Linked DNA regions of Homo sapiens: region 1 is linked to region 2. Evidence: promoter capture Hi-C in 16 types of primary human blood cells and fetal thymus (Javierre and others, 2016). All regions are on one chromosome and are shown on one strand. The core of a region is centred on a gene start or on the middle of the fragment in contact, and the rest is flanking DNA. Distances in the headings are between cores, read along the strand shown.

What was found. Contacts are between HindIII fragments. The CHiCAGO score rates a contact against its expected background, and 5 or more counts as called.
Region 1: a fragment that was not itself captured here is called in contact with the fragment with the promoter of QPCTL in region 2 in 1 of 17 cell types (fetal thymus); the score reaches 5.5 in fetal thymus.

The regions. Positions count from the first base shown.
Region 1 is chr19:48,717,892-48,723,414 of GRCh38, reverse strand. MAMSTR (MEF2 activating motif and SAP domain containing transcriptional regulator) reads left to right here and starts at 3,690. Exons shown (of 10, transcript NM_001130915.2): 1 at 3,690-3,736; 2 at 4,363-4,441. The coding sequence starts at 4,384. It overlaps RASIP1 (Ras interacting protein 1), which reads left to right. Exons shown (of 12, transcript NM_017805.3): 11 at 1,414-1,561; 12 at 2,418-2,830. The coding sequence ends at 2,617. RefSeq lists enhancers at 2,350-2,399, 2,104-3,049 and a cis regulatory region at 2,367-2,907. The HindIII fragment of the contact is 260 bases long and covers 2,436-2,695 here.
Region 2 is chr19:45,691,416-45,696,417 of GRCh38, reverse strand. QPCTL (glutaminyl-peptide cyclotransferase like) reads right to left here and starts at 3,752. Exons shown (of 7, transcript NM_017659.4): 1 at 3,508-3,752; 2 at 2,862-3,005; 3 at 700-981. The coding sequence starts at 3,714. SNRPD2 (small nuclear ribonucleoprotein D2 polypeptide) reads left to right here and starts at 4,465. Exons shown (of 3, transcript NM_001384647.1): 1 at 4,465-4,531. The coding sequence starts at 4,530. RefSeq lists enhancers at 3,045-3,595, 4,121-4,250, 4,261-4,390, 4,209-4,929. The HindIII fragment of the contact is 1,670 bases long and covers 2,675-4,344 here.

The DNA of each region.
Region 1 (5,523 bases), core at 1,316-3,815, 3.0 Mb before region 2:
CTAATTTTTGTAATTTTGGTAGAGACAGGGTTTCACCTTGTTGGGCAGACTGGTCTTGAACTCCTGACCTCAGGGGATGCGCCTGCCTCGGCCTCCCAAAGTGCTGGGATTACAGGCGTGAGCCACCATGGCCGGCCAATTTCAATTATTTATTTTCCTTTCTTCTTAAATATCTTACAAAAACTGTTCCCCATAGACATTTATTTATTTATATCAAATGTTTATAATGGGCTGGGCGTAGTGGCTAATGCCTGTAATGCCAGCATTTTGGGAGGCCGAGGTGGAAGGACCGCTTGAGCCCAGGAGTTTGACACCAGTTGGCAACATAGGGGAGACACCATCTCTACCAAAAATTTTAAAAATTAGCCAGGTGTGGAGGCACACGTCTGTGGTCCCAGCCACTCCAGAAGCAGAGGTGGAAGGACTGCTTGAGCCCAGGAGGTTGAGGCTGCAGTGAGCCACAGTCATGCCACTGTACTCCAGCATGGGTGACAAAGCAAGACCCTGTCTCAAAACAATAAGAAAGAAAGTTTACCATGCATTTAATAAGCCCCAGGCAGTGTTCCAAGTACTTTACAATTTTGCCATATTGCATCCTCATACCAACTCTATTAGATAGTTCCTGTTCTCCAAATTTATGGATGAGGAGACTAGGGGACGGTGACCTGCCGGAAGGTAATAAGTGACCCACCTGGGATTTTTGAACTCAGGCAGTCTAGGTGGAGTCTCTGATGTTAAGCACATTGATGGTTCTGACGTCAGCTACATCAGGTGTAGACATTGTCAAACAGATATAGAGTGGCCGCCATAGAATAATGAATCCCAACTGGGCGCAGTGGCTCATGCCTGTAATCCTAGAACTTTGAGAAGCTTGAGACCAGCCTGGGCAGCATAGTGAGATCCCATCTCTACAAAAACTTAACCAGGTGTGGTGGCGTGTGCCTGTAGTCCCAGCTACTCTGGAGGCTGGGGCCAAGGATCACTTGAGCCCAGGATCACTTGAGCCGGGAGTTTGAGGCTGCAGCAAGCCACGATCGAGCCACTGCACTCCAGCCTGGGCGACGGAGTGAGACCCTGTCTCTTTAAGGACAAAAAAAAAAAAAAAAAAAAAAAATCCCCAAGTACCATCGCCAGATTCAATAATATAAACGAATGGCCAATCTTATTTATTTCCACCCTACTCATTTCCTGTATCCTCAATTATCCTGAGGCACATCACATTTTTACAAATTGCTGGGAGCACACCCTTCCCCACCATCACTTTGGTGATAAACAGACTTCACAGTGCCCAGAAGACACTGCAGAGATGCCATTATCTTCCCACCACACCCACTCCCCTTATGGAAGCCCTTCCATTTCATTTCTTAACTGCCCCGTAATGACCATCAACCTCTCACCTGGTCTTCCCACCAGGCTTCATGGAGCAGCCTAAGAACCGACCACCCCACCTTGACCCCCGCCCAGCTGCACCATCTGCTCAGCCACTATCAGCTGGGCCCTGGCCGCGGGCCGCCAGCCGCGTGGGACCCTCCCCCTGCAGAGCGGGAGGCTGTGGACACAGGTGAGGAGCAATGGGATACAGCATTGGGGCTGTCAGCTTTCTTCTTCTTTTGAGACGGAGTCTCGCCCTGTCACTCAGGCTGGAGTGCAATGGCGCGATCTTGGCTCACTGCAACCTCTGCCTCCCGGGTTCAAGCGATTCTCCTGCCTCAGCCTCCCGAGTAGCTGGGATTACAGGCATGCGCCACCACGCCTGGCTAATTTTTTGTATCTTTAGTAGAGACGGGGGTTTCACCGTGTTGGCCAGGCTGGTCTCGAACTCCTGACCTCGTGATCCGCCCGCCTCGGCCTCCCAAAGTGCTGGGATTACAGGCGTGAACCACCTCACCTTTCTTCTTTTCTCAGGATCTTGGAGTCCAGATCCCCAGTCTCCTTCTAACCCCAGATTCTGGACCCCTGTCCCTCCCCACCAGGACATAAGTGCAGGACCCAGCCCCTTCCCCCGTCAAGATACAGGAGTTCAAGCCCCCAGCTCCCTTTATTCTCTGGGGTTCGCATCCCTAGTCCATTCCCTCCACCAGCCACCCACCCACCACCCCTAGGAGTCCAGGTCTCGGGACTTTCACTCCCCTGAACTTGACTCCTCCACCTTTAGGAATCTGTAAGGCAAGTTCCCAGCCCTTTCTCGGGGATTTGGGAAGCCGTTTCCCAGGCAACGGTGGCCTTCCATCGTCTGAACTACAACTTCCATCATGCCCAGGGGCTCCTAGAGTAGCGTGTGAACGGACCCCGCCCCAGGAGTTGCTGGGGTTTGTAGTTTTTTTCTTCCTTTGGGTGTGACGCAGCCTCGGCTCTTCCCGATGCAACTACCTCACTCCCACTTTCAGACTCTAACCGCGCCGCCTTCGGCCTCACAGGGGACATCTTCGAAAGCTTCTCCTCGCACCCGCCCCTCATCCTCCCCCTGGGGAGCTCGCGCCTGCGCCTCACTGGTCCAGTGACGGACGATGCCTTGCACCGTGAACTCCGTAGGCTCCGCCGCCTCCTCTGGGATCTTGAGCAGCAGGAGCTGCCAGCCAATTATCGCCATGGGCCTCCCGTGGCCACGTCTCCTTGAGAACCAATACCAAACGAGCGCGCGAACCTTGAAATGTCACGGGCTTCTACGGACAGGAGCCCGCCTGAGCGCAAAGCTTTCTGGGAGTTGTAGTTCTTATCCCGCGTGGAATGTTGGGAGATTGAGTTTTCGGGAAGTAGCGGATGGGACGGTGGGAGCATGGGCTTAGGATGTGAATGCCAGGGAGCAATAAAGGTATCCGTGGTATCGGCAGCGCCTCGATTGTTAAGACTCAGGGGCGCTAATGATGATTTTCTGCAGAACAAGGTTGCAGGGCCCTTGTCTGGGCCCCTGCCGAGTCTGAGGAGGTATTTATAGCCACGGCCTTGGCTCGCCCTTTTGCATGTAATCCAACCCAAGAGCAGAGGAGCCTCCCACACCCCTCAGAACACGGCCCTAAGCTTGCTCTGCCGATTATAAGGCCCTCAGTCCTGCCAGTGGGAACCAGCGATTCTCCCTTCGACACCCCCCCAAATCCATACTCCAGCCCCCTCCTCCCTCAGACCCAGGAATCTAAGTCCCCAGCCCCCTCTGGACCTTTCTGCCTGCCGGGCACACCGCCGAATCCGAACACCTCTGTCCCTGTTCCCAACACCCCAGAGGCCCCTGCCTCTTTTTCTTTAAACCCAGGACTCCAGGTCCCCATCCCTCTCCTTTCTTGGATCCAGGAATCTGGGCCCCCCGTTTGAACTTTTCACTCCCCTGAACTTGACTCCAGTTGCTGCGTCAGGGAAAAAGTAGGCGACAGGTGGCACCTGCCGGTAGGGCCAGGACACGACCACCTGCCGCTGCTGCTCACCCGGCGCCCCTCTCCGGGCACCTGCTTCTGTCAGTCCGCCTGCCACCGTTCCCCCCGACCCCACAACCCCAGGACGTGCAGGAGGAGCGAGCCGGGGAACCCTGACGTCCCCGCTCTCACCCCCCAGCATCCCCCAAGGCCCGCACAGGCCCTCCCAGCGGGTGCTCCCACCCCTTCTCAGGGTCCCCGGCGGGGCTCCCGTCACACCCCAGGAAGGTGGGTTGGAGGCGGTCCCAGGCTGGTGGGGCGGAGCCTGTGGTGTCCAGCCTCGGCCTCTAGACTCAACCCGCCCCAGAGCACAGCTTCGCCGAGCCCACCTGGTGAGAAGCCCCTGGGGTGGACGGGGGGGGCGCACTCCTCAACGGTTCTATCCCCTCTCTGGTCCCAGTCCCTTCCCCAGAGAACCTGGTGGCTGACACCCTACTCACTCCTTCTCAGATGCAGGTCACAGGGGCCCTTCTATTCCTCAGAAACCTGTCAGGGCCCCGTTCCCCTCTCCACCCAGGATCTTGGATTCTCATCTCCTAAGAGTATTGAGTTCCAGCCCTTAACCTCCTTCTCCTTCAAGATTCCAGACTCCAGGCCCCTCTGCTTCCTCCCTTTCCTAGACACAGGGGTCCCAACCCGCAACCCTTCCTCCTCAGGACCCAGGAGTCCCAGATTCCAGGTCCCTCCCCTCCCAGGATCCCAGGGTTGAGACCCTCAGCCCTGTCTTTCAGACCAGGTGTCTGGGTCCCCAGCTTCCTCCTTCCTCGGAGCAAGGTGTCCGGGTGTGCAGCCCCCTCCTCTACAGCCCCTGGGATCCGGAAGTTATGGCCCAAGGCTGCTCCTATTCCCACCTCCTTCGGGCCCTTTCCCTGCTGAATTCACTCTCAGGGGCGGCCTCCTGACCTCCACTCTGAGCCAGCCCTCTATGGGGCCCCTGCCCTGCCCCCTCTCCGTCCAGGTCCCCATCCCGGCCTTGGCAATGACCCTGGCGGCTTCCTCCCAGCGTTCCCAAATCATTCGCTCCAAGTTCCGATCTGGTGAGAGAGGGCTCTCTTTATGCGTGGGGGATGGGATCCTGAGAATGCTGTACTCTGGGGTGGGAAGGGAGGGGTGGTAGGTCCCATGAGGCCTGTGTTTTTTGTGCAAAAGGTCATGTTGCATAAAGGAGGCCCAAGCACAGGGGTCCGGCTGTGGTGGATCAACGAGTGTGCAAATGGCTAGTAGCATGCTCACGGGGGGAGCAATGGGGATTGGAGGCCAGGGGTAGGCGTGCAGAGGGCTCAAGCACTGAAGAGAAACAAAGGCTTATACTGGCGCACACGCAGGGGCAGAAGAGCAGAGGAGGGACCTCAGAGGACCAGTGTGGGAGTTTGGGTGAGGGGACAATGAGCTGTCAAGCTGTGAAAGTGTCAAAGGTCTTGTTTTAGGTCCCAGGGCAGGCAAAAAGTCTGCAAGTATAGCCGGGTGTGGTGGCGCATGCCTGTAATCCCAGCTACTTGGGAGGTTGAGGCGGGAGAATCGCTTGAACCCGGGAGGAGGAGGTTGCGGTGAGCCGAGATCACGCCATTGCACTCCAGCCTGGGCAACAAGAGCGAAACTCCATCTCAAAAAAAAAAAAAAAAAAAAAAAAGAAGTGTGCAAGTGTTTCGAACTACAGATCAGTTCCTGAGAAGGCAAAGGGTACTTGAGTGTGCACGTGAGCGTGCCTATGTGGTTGGATGGGTACAAAGACACCAGCAATCAAAGAGCAAGGAGTATACAAAAAGGCGCATATGTCCAGAGAAAAGCAGAAATGTGCAGAGAGATCCTTGCTCCCAAATTGGGGGACAAACCCTGACTGTGCACATAAGAAAGTGAACATTCATCCAGGTGGGGCGCGGTGGCTCTTACCTGTAATCCCAGCACTTTGGGAGGCCAAGGCAGGTGGATCACCTGAGGTCAGGAGTTCAAGACCAGCCTGGCCAACATGGCGAAACCATGTCTCTACTAAAAATACAAAAAAATGACGCCGGGCAAGGTGGCTGATGCCTGTAGTCCTAGCACTTTGGGAGGCCAAGGCGGGCGGATTGCCTGAGCTCAGGAGTTCGAGACCAGCCTGGGCAACACGGTGAAACCCCAT
Region 2 (5,002 bases), core at 2,503-5,002:
GGTTTCATCATGTTGGCCAGGCTGGTCTTGAACTCCTGACCTTGTGATCCACCCACCTCAACCTCCCAAAGTGCTGGGATTCCAAGTGTGAGCCACGGAGCCTGGCCAGAAAAGCACATTCTATCCAAAGCAAACAGCAAGTGCAGATGCCCTGAGGTGGGAGCAAGCTCTGCGGGTTTGAGGAACCCAGAGGAGGTGGGGGTGGCTACAGCAGAGTGAGCAAGAGGTGAGGGGTGGGAGATGAGGCTGGAGAGGTAACAGGGCACAGCTCGTGGGCCAATATAAGGACTCTGGATTATGGCTGGAATGAGGCGGGAGCCCTGGGAGGGTTTGGGGGAGAGGAAAGAGAATCTGACATCTAGAAGGTAAAAAGATCCCTGTGATGACCAGGCGCGGTGGCTCACGCCTGTAATCCCAGCACTTTGAGAGGCCGAGGTGGGCAGATCACCTGAGGTTGGGAGGAGAATTGCTTGAACCCAGTAGGCAGAGGTTGCGGGGAGCCAAGATCTCGCCATGTGCACTCCATCCTGGGGAACAAGAGCGAAACTCCGTCTCAAAAAAAAAAAAAAGATCCCTGTGGCTCTGTGCGTGGAGTAGAGTGGGAAGACGAGAGGGATGACAAATGTCCAGGCAAGGGAGGGTGGGGGCTTGGGAAAAGGTGGAGGTAGCCCACTACCCTCCCCGACTCCTGCTCCTCACCTGTTTTTTGGCCCTGCTCAGCTCCAGGTCAAGTGCTTGGGCCAGCTCCAGCAGCAGGGCACAGGGCACAGCCGAATCCGTGGCCCCTACAAAGGGGGTCGATCCGGGTGGGAAGAGCTTCGAGTCATAATGGCAGGCAAGGGTGAGGTGACGGGCAGCCCTTGGGTCCAGTGTGGCCACCACATTGCCAAAGTCCACTGGCCCCAGGGGTGTTGAGGCTGTGAAGGGATCCAGCTCCACGTGCCAACCTGCTGTCAGGGACCGCAGCGTGGCCTCCAGGAACTAGCGGCAAGAGAGAGGTGGGAGGGTGGACGGGGACTGGGGAGGAGGTGGGGAGAAGGGCCACGTGACCTGAGCCATGCAGAGCAGATGGGTTGACACTAAAGCCCCACTCTGATTGAATGGATTTCTTTCTTTCTTTCTTTTTTTTTTTGAGATGGAGTCTTGCTCTGTCACCCAGGCTGGAGTGCAGTGGCTTGATCTTGGCTCACTGCAACCTCTGCCTCCTGGCTTCAAGTGATTCTCCTGACTCAGCCTCCTGAGTAGCTGGGGTTACAGGCGCCCCCTACAACGCCTGGCTATTTTTTGTATTTTTAGTAGAGATGGGGTTTCACAATGTTGGCCAGCCTGGTATTCGAACTCCTGACCTCAAGTGATCTGCCTGCTTCAGCATCCCAAAGTGTTGGGATTACAGATGTGAGCCACTGTGCCCAGCCCCCTACTCTGATTAAAATCATTCCCTTGACAGTGCTGGTGAGTACCTACTGGGTGCCAGATGTTGGGGAGACCCCACCTCTTGAAGCCAGCAAGACTCATCACAGCTTACCCTTAAATAGCTCTCACTGTGTGCTAAGCCCTCTTCTAGGAACCATTTAGGGGAGGGACTGCCAATACATGACCCCATTTTACAGATGAGGAAATGGGCTCAGAGAGGTTAAGAAACTAGTCCAGGCCGGGCGCGGTGGCTCACGCCTGTAATCCCAGCACTTTGGGAGGCTGAGGTGGGCGGATCATAAGGTCAGGAGTTTGAGACCAGCCTGGCCAATATGGTGAAACCCCGTCTCACTAAAAATACAAAAAATTAGCCAGGCATGGTGGTGCACACCTGTAATCCCAGCTACTCAGGAGGCTGAAGCATGAGATTTGCTTGAACCTGGGAGGTGGAGGTTGCAGTGAGCCGAGATCGCGCCACTGCACTCCAACCCAGGCGACAGTGTGAGACTCCATCTCAAAATAAAATAAAATAAAATAAAATAAAAAAGAAACCAGTCCAAGGTCACAATCTAAGTGGATGAGGTAGCATTGGGACTCAGGCAGTATTTAAGTGACTTTTTTTTTTTGAGATGGAGTCTCGCTCTGTCACCCATGCTGGGGTGCAGTGGCGCAATCTCAGCTCACTGCAGTCTCCGCCTCCTGGGTTCAAGTGATTCTCGTGCCTCAGCCTCCCAAGTAGCTGGGACTACGGGTACCCACCACCACGCCTGGCTAATTTTGTATTTTTAGTAGAGATGAGGTTTCACCATGTTGGCCAGGCTGGTCTCAAACTCCTGATCTCGAGGGATCTGCCTGTCTCGGCCTCCCAAAGTGCTGGGATTAGAGGTGTGAACCACTGCGCCTGGCCTTTAAATGACTCTTCATGCTTTCTGGAAGACAACAGATACATTACAGCACCAGCTCGGAGCCAACCTGTTTGGGTTCAACTCTAGGTCTATGATTTTCTAAACATTGGGTCTCACTAGGTTGACTAGGCTAGTCTCAAACTTCTCAGGTGATTCTTCCACCTTGGCTTCCCAAAGTGCTGGGATTACAGGCATGAGCCACTGCACCCGGCTAAGGTCTACTACTTATTATCTGTAGGATTTGTGCAATGTGTATAACCTCTCTGAGCCTCAGTTTCCCCATCTGCATAATGAAGATCATATTGGTACCCACCTTATAGGGCTGTCTGTTGCCTATGCCTAGCACACAGTAAGCTTTTGGTGGGGGCATTAAGGGGGGCAGTACAGCCTGGTGGTTTGTTACCAGCATGGAGTCTAGAGTCCGATTAACTCCAGTCAGAGCCCCAGTTCCTCCTCTTAGCTTCTTTGGGATCTTGAACAGGATTCTTATTTCCCATTCCCTGGAGGGCTAGGGGGTCAGGGACTGGAGGTGGGTCCCTTTACCTTTCTGACTTGGAGATTTCCCGGGCTGCCCGGGGTTCGCACAACCAGCAGGGGGCGCAGATAAGTGCTCCAGAGACGCTGTGGATCCAGTTGTCCCACCACCCTCCGCAGCCGGGCTTCGGGGAGGCTTCCGATCAATGGGACCTTGGGAAGGAGGTGGGATAGGGAAGGGAAGAATGAGAGCAACCCCCCCATTTCAACCCTACCCCGGGCGCCGTCACCCGCGAGGAGCCCCGGGTTCTCTTCCTAATCTGCCGCCTCCAGCATCGGAGACTTCTAGGATAAATCCAAGGCTCAGGAAAAGTCCTTCCAAGACCATCCGGTCCAGCCTACCTCAAACTTGATGGGGAAATCGAGGCCCAGTGAGAGAGAGGGGAGATGGAGGAAGGGACTCTTCCAAATAGTTGACTAAAGGCGTAGAACCCTGAACCCCCCCGTCTTACTATTTCAGACCTTTCCTCTTAAAAGGAAGCTACTGTTGCAGAACCAGCCCGAAGCCTTATTCCTTTGGTAAGGGTCATGCGCTCAGATGACGAAGACGGTGGCATCTGCGGTTAGGGCCGTACGCTAAAGCCACGTCAACCCTGGGTAACAGCGGGGAGGGAATGAGGGTCCCCGCGGTGCCCGGGTCCCCGCCCAGCCTCACCCGCAGCTCCCGGCCCAGCGGCAGCTCCTCAGTCCTGCGGTGCCAGCCGCTCCAAATGGTGTAGAACGCCGAGCCCACGGCCAGCGCCAGCAACAGAGGCAAGAGCCGAACCCGCGGTAGCAGGCGGCGCTTCGGCGGCAAGAGTGGCTCCATGAGGCCACGTTCCCCCAGCCGCAGGCGGGGTCGCCCGCGGCCCCCGGAACGCATGGCCGCTTTGCCCTGAAACCTGTACCAGACCACGGATTGAGTTTAGGCCCAGCCAAGTTCCTCCCCATGGAATCGGTGGGCCAATAAGCAACAGCTGCGGCTGCACCAGCCCACCCCACAGCGAGCAGCGAAACCAATAAGAACTACGGTCCTGAGGACACGCCTCCCAGCCTCCCTTAGGTATTGGGGTTGGTTCCCCTGAGAATGGCACGACCCAAATGGGAGCGCAAGAGAAGTAGGCTCCGCCTTAGCGGAGGAGGGAAAGCCAATGAACAGCGTTTGATCATGGAAAATATTCGATCTCCCGGGCGCAGGTCCATGCCCCTTCCGGATGTAGGCAGGGGATTGGTGGCGCAGGGTCGGAAAGATCAGTAGATACGTCAGTAACGCGTCCCAGAGGGAAGAGGGGCGGTGCCTGTCTCCGAAGCGAGGAGCGGATTGGCTTCACGGAGGCCGCGCCCCCGAAGTCACGGCCGGCGGGCATTTGGAAATAGCTTGTCATTTCCCTCCTTCAACCTGTACCATTCTTCAAGAAACGGTTTGAATCAGACTGCCTTTCCTTTTGTCTTCATTGTCATAAACATCTGCCCCCGTGTGGTTCTGACTGGCCGCGAACCCCTACCCGAAGCTTTTATTCCATCATTGTGCACCGTTGGTGGGGAATGCTGTGGCAACAGGCCACGCCTCCACTTACTGGTTGGCTTTGCGCAGGCGCCAACGGAAGTGGGTCGCAGGAAGAGGAAGTCCCGCCTCTCTCTCCTCAGGCAGCAGCAACGCGGAGGAAACGGGAGTGAACGGAGAGCGTAGTGACCATCATGTGAGGCCGGGCTAGGCTTAGGCGGCGGGAATGAGGTTGAGGGTGGATATTTGACCGATTGAGTGTGGGAAGGGTTGAGCAGAGCGGGGGGGGCAGGGGCAGATGTTTTAGGGATGCAGCGTCCTGCTTTTCTCCTGATGAGTTTGAGAACGGGCGTGGGGCCTTTGACGCATCGTGACTTCGGGAGAGGGGACAGCTTTATCAGATAACGCCCTGGGCTGGGCGCGGGGGCTCATTCCTGTGATCCCAGCACTTTAGTAGGCCAAGGCGGAGCATCGCTGGAACACAGGAGTTCGAGACTAGCCTAGGCAACATAGCGAGACCCCCGTCTCTACAAAAAAAAAAAAAAATTTAATTATGAAAAACATGTTTTAAACGATAACGGGAGTGGTCCTAGATAATTAGTCCTATTGAAATGAATGTTAAGGGGCAGCGATTTTACGAATACTGGGGGAGGCCGAGCGCGGTGGC